Regions from separate parts of the Homo sapiens genome. Here region 2 is linked to region 1. The links are contacts of gene promoters, found by promoter capture Hi-C in human tissues and cell types (Jung and others, 2019). All regions are on one chromosome and are shown on one strand. Each heading gives the region's core, a stretch centred on a gene start or on the middle of the fragment in contact. The rest is flanking DNA. Distances are from core to core; before and after follow the strand shown.

Region 1 (2,829 bases), core at 330-2,829:
AACAAAGGCCATTCACAAAGGAGTGTCCCCATAGAGTCCCAAACTCACCCCAGCTCAGCTGAAAACCACACGCCTCTCTAGTCCCTTGTCCCACTGTCACAGCAAGAACTGGAGCCTCTTGGGCCACAGTCTCCCCAACCCCATCCAATCCCACCTCCCAATTCTCCCACAGCCTCTGTCTGCTTCCTGCTCCGTTCCAGGAGTGACTGTGTCGCTGTAGGGCTTTCACACAAATGGAAGGCCCCAGAGGGCAACCCATCCTCTCTCATTTTCCTTCCCCTTTATCCTTGCTCAGACCCGATGCCAGGGCTGGAAAGAGAGAAGACACCAGCTGGACAATTCAGCAGTTATTTAAACCAGTCTGAGCCTTGGAATCCCAGGCTTTATTAAAACTGGACGACCCCTATGTCATGAGCATATAGTTGGGATTTGATGAGCTAGGACATGAAAAACCCGTGGCATAGTGGCTGGCATTCGGCTGCTGATCTTAAGAGTGGCACCTGGAGGCCAAAGGGCTGCCCAGCTCAGGCAGGCGATTTGCTCACTTGCTCACCCGCTTACCCTTCTCTGAGGCACAGGCTCTACCAACTCCTGCTCTGCAGGGACAGCCTCCAACCCACCTTCTGAGGATGTTCTGACTCTCACAGCGAGGCTGTGGCATAGGACTCCCAGGTGAGAGCGCATGCGGCCCCTGGTACATTTATAATCTGAACCTTGGCTCATCTTCCTAGTGGCCTGAGAGGTGAAGATGGAAAAGCTGAGGCTCTCTGAGGGGCTGGACTTCTTCTAGGTCATCCCCTATTAGAATAAGTGAACCTGAACTCAGGTCTCAGGTCTGGCTGAACTCAACATAGGGGGGCCATGGAGGATCACTGCCCTCTGGGAGGTGACACCAGGAGTCAGGGTGAGTGATGAGGCTGGGACTGGGGCCTCTGGACGCCCAGCCCAAGGCTCTCTATGTCACTTCCTGGCCGAGCATGGATGCTTGGAATGGCTTCTACGCCACTGAGTCTGTCTCCTAGTCCCTGTGCCCCGCAGGCTGGCTCTTGAGTCTTCTGTCTCTGCACGAAGCCATCCTCCTTTCTGCTGACCATGCGGCTACTACAGAGAGCCCTGCTACCCTCTCCCTTCTGGGTGAGTCTCCTTGGCCCACCCTACTCAATGGCTCGCTCACTGGGTGCCCTGGAGCCTCAATCTCCCCATCTTAAGTGAGGTTGAGACTCGTCTGGAGGAGCGAAGGACCCAGGGCGCCAGGCACCAGGCAGATGCCCCCAGAGCCGCCGCCCCCGGTCCTCCGGCCCCCGGTCTGCCCCGCAGCGCCTGCCCGGCCGCCCTGCCCAGCCACCCCTTGTACCTTGCTTCTTCCTTCGGTTCAGGGCGAGCATGTCCACGGCGTGGGCGACGAGCAGGAGCAGGCAGAGTGGCGCCCGCATCTGGGCAGCCGGATCCGGGCTGGCGCTCCCCAGGCGGCCCGACGGCCCAAGGGCCCCACGTCCCGGCGGCGGCACGGCGGGCGCGGGGGCTGCTGTGGGCGCGCCGGGCGCATCCGCCAGGCGCGGGTCGGTCCGGCCGCCAGGTCTAGTGAGGGCGTTGGCGGAGCCGGGGCACTGCCCTGGCGGGGAGGAGCCGGCGCGGCGGGGGCGGCGCGTTAACCAGCTCGGGGCCCGGGAGCGCGCGCGGGGAGGGGGCGGGGGTCACCCGGGTCGGGGCCCTCGAGTTCGATCTGTCCCGCAGCCGGCGGTCTTGCGTCTTTCCCGCCCCCAGCACTGCCCCCGAGCACGTGCACGTGCCCACCGCCAGCCACAGGTACGCACGCGCGCGCAGGTACAGATGCGCGGACACCCGGAGACCCGTACGGTCCCCCGCGCCCTCTCAGCGCCTGTGATTTTCTTTCCCTCCCCCCAGTCCCCTTTCTCTGTCTGTTCCTCCTTCTGGCCCTTAAGGACAACTCCTTGTCTCCTGCTTTCTCGGTCTTTCCGCGGCCCGCGCTCCCCTGCTCTGCCCCCGACCCTGCCTGGCTGTTCCTGCATCCTTTACTCTTGCCGGCCGTCTCTCTCTCAGGCTCACTGTCTGTGTCCTCCTGGCTGGGCCTCTGGTTCTCCCTTTTCTCTGTCTCTCCCTTCAACCCCATCTCTCCCCTTCTCCCCTCCTGCAGGGTGGGGTGTTTGCGGGGCTCCTGCTGCCTGGCTTTCTCTTTTTCTCTCTACTCTGTCTCATTCTTTTAACAGAGGCCTGAGCCCCTTCTGGCCACTAACCCTGAATGTTTCCTGTGCAGTCTGCGGGGATCATCTACTCCGACTCAAAGTGACCAGCACCTCATAAATCCACTTGTGACAGGGCTGGGGACCTGGACTGTGTTTCCTCCAACCTTATCACCAGGACTGGGAGCAGCTGGTTCAAGTTTAACCCTTTCAGAGCAAAATTCCTCCTTCAACCCGACAGCATGCTCACCTCTCCTGTCACTATAACCACCAAAAACAACAACAATCATGCTAGCTATCATTTGTGAGGCATATATGGTGGGCATTGCTAAGAACTTGACATATACTAGAGTCTTCAAAACAACCCAATGGTTTGGGTTTGTATTCTGAGTAATTCCACTTTTCTGGGGAGCAAAGGGAAGCTCAGAGAGGCCAAGTGACTTGCCCAAGGCCACACAGCAGGTCAGTGGCCATTCTGGTCCAGTGCCTGCCCCTCTTAGCCACTTCTCAGGCACAGACTCATCAGAATGGAAGAGGCCTTGGAGGGAGGCCTAGAGAAACTTACAGTTGACACTCTCTTGCTGAACAATTGTCCTTCCTTTTTCTTTTCTTTTTTTTTTCTTTTTTT
Region 2 (2,840 bases), core at 252-2,751, 200 kb before region 1:
ACCTAGCAGATCAGGTAGCCAAGCAGGCTGCTGTGTCTTCTGAAATGCGTGTTTTTCACTTAACTCCCTACCTCCCTCCTCCTACCATAATCCCCATTTTCTCTTCCACCGAAAAAGAGAAACTAATAAAAATAGGTGCTAAAGAGAATTCAGAAGGAAAGTAGATACTGCCAGACCAGAGAGAAATGTTGTCTAAACCCTTTATGAGGGAAGTCGTATCCCAACTACATCAGGGGACCCATTTTGGGCCCCAGGCCATGTGTGACGCAGTTCTCAGAGTTTATGGTTGTATAGGAATTTATACCCTGGCAAAACAGGTTACAGATAGTTGCTTAGTATGTAAGAAAACTAATAGACATACTATAAAATGATTACCTCTCAGGGGAAGGAATCCAGGCTAAAGGCCATTCCAAAGTATCTAAGTTGATTACACAGAAATGCCTCTGATAGATCATCTAAAATATTTACTAGTGATAGTAGGCCACCTCACTCCCTGGGTCGAAGCTATCCCCTTTTCAAATGCAACAGCCAGTAATGTAGTTGAGGCCCTAATTGAAAATATAGTACCCAGGTTTCGACTAACGGAAAATACTGACTCAGACAATGGAACTCATTTCACCACACACATTATTAAAAAGCTATTCCAAAATATTAGACATTAGATGGGAACACCATACTCCCTGGCACCCACCCTCATCAGGGAGAGTAGAAAGAATGAATTAGACTCTAAAGAACCACTTAACCAAATTAGTCTTACAGACTTGGTTGCCATGGACCAAGTATCTTCCTATCACCCTGCTGAGAATTTGAACTGCACCATGGAAAGACATTGGTCTTTCTCCTTATGAGATGCTCTATGGATTACCTTATTTGCACTCCACTGTTGATATTCCTACCTTTGAAACAAATGATCAATTCCTTAAAAATTATATACTTGGTCTATGTTCTACTTTCTCCTCTCTTAAAACTAAAGGTCTATTAGCACAGGCACCACCCTTGGAGTTCCTGGTGCATCAACATTAGCCTGGGGATCACGTCCTCATCAAGAGCTGGAAAGAGGAGAAGCTTGAGCCAGCCTGGGAAGGTCCTTACTTGGTGCTCCTAACTACTGAAACCGCAGTCCGCACAGCAGAGAGAGGATGGACTCACCACACCCAAGTCAAGAAAGCACCGCCCCCTCCAGAGTCGTGGGCCATAGTCCCAGGGGAAAACCCTACTAAACTAAAGCTAAGAAGAATTTAACTCCCTTTCATCTATTCTATTACTCTTTTTTCTTTCCTCACTCTATTGCTGACCATATAGTTATTAACATAACCAAGTCAATTTCACCTCAACTATTGCATTTGATGCTTGCCTTGTTATATCCTGTGGGGATTTGTCAAGCCAAAGAAAGCTCTCTACTTCAGATACCTCTGTCCCTCCTGGCTCTCCTCAGACTAGGCATTAGTGAATCGGGACCATTTAATCTGGGGAGATTTCTATAAAGATCCCAGTGGCAACCAGGAGTCTTCCCCCAGTGATGTAGAGCTTTTAAGCCATAGTTGGTCCAAAGTTCTGTGGACCATTAAAGAGCAAGGATGGATTGCCCCAACCAGTTTTTGTAATTTCCTAAATTCATACATTCGTTTTACTAAAGGGACAGTGCCCACTAACTCTCAGCTAAACCAGTGCAACCCTATACAGGTTATTATTTTGAGCCCACAAAATTCTTCCTCTTTTCTAAGCTGGTTCCCTTCTTTAAGCCAGTTTTATGGTATGGGGGCTGAAGTTTCAGGGACAGACCCTATTGGATTCTTTGAAATGCACTTCTTTGATCCCCTGCTGTCTGCACCTGCCTCTGAGCCTTTTTCCAAAACCTCTCACAACGGAACCATTGTTCCTCCTCTATCTAACGACAAGGCCAAGATAGCGATGGTAGAAGTTAAAGACTTAAAACAAACTGGCAATTGAGACAGGATACCAAGATGTAAATGTTTGGTTGGAATGGATCAAATATTTCATCCACACGTTAAACAAAAGCAATTGTTATGCTTGTGCGCACAGCAGGCCAGAGGCCCAGATTGTCCCCTTTCCACTAGGGTGGTCCTCCAGTTGACCGGGCATGGGCTGCATGGTAGCTCTTTTCCAGGATTCTATAGCCTGGGGTAAGAAGTTGTGCCAAGCTCTCTCTCTGCTATATCCCGAAGTTTGACACCTTGTGGGTCAGCCCCCAAGGGCCATCCAGCTTCCATCTCCCAACACTAAGTTTACTTCGTGTCTCTCATGACAGGGAGGAAACTTAGTGTTCCTTGGAGACCTGAAGGGATGCAGTGAGCTTAAGAACTTTTGGCCAGGCGCGGTGGCTCATGCCTGTAATCCCAGCACTTTGGGAGGCCGAGGCAGGCGGATCACAAGGTCAGGAAATCGAGACCATCCTGGCTAACACGATGAAACCCCATCTCTACTAAAAATACAAAAAAAAAAAAAAAAATTAGCCAGGCGTGGCGTCATGCGCCTGTAGTCTCAGCTACTTGGGAGGCTGAGGCAGGAGGATGGCGTGAACCCAGGAGGTGGAGCTTGCAGTGAGCCGAGATCGTGCCACTGCACTCCAGCCTGGGCGACAGAGCGAGACTCTCTCTCGAAAAAAAAGAAAAAGAACTTTCAAAAGCTTACCAATCAGCCAGCCCTTGTTCATCCCCTAGCAGAAGTGTGGTGGTATTGTGGTGGACCTTTACTGGACACTCTGCCGAATAACTGGATTGGCACTTGTGCTTTAGTCCAACTAGCTATCCCTTTCACCCTGGCATTTCATCAACCAGAGGAAGGAAAAATAAGACATCGTAAAGTGAGAGAAGCCCCTT

Evidence for each region. Contacts are between HindIII fragments. The study calls those that stand out against the background at their distance.
Region 2: a contact is called between a fragment that was not itself captured here and the fragment with the promoter of RSPO4 in region 1, in 2 of the 25 tissues and cell types used here (dorsolateral prefrontal cortex and spleen).

The regions. Positions count from the first base shown.
Region 1 is chr20:1,000,732-1,003,560 of GRCh38, forward strand. RSPO4 (R-spondin 4) reads right to left here and starts at 1,580. Exons shown (of 5, transcript NM_001029871.4): 1 at 1,355-1,580. The coding sequence starts at 1,433. The HindIII fragment of the contact is 18,767 bases long and covers 1-2,829 here.
Region 2 is chr20:796,825-799,664 of GRCh38, forward strand. No RefSeq gene overlaps it. Among named protein-coding and RNA genes, the nearest start is that of SLC52A3, 30 kb to the left of the region's middle. The HindIII fragment of the contact is 3,114 bases long and covers 1-2,840 here.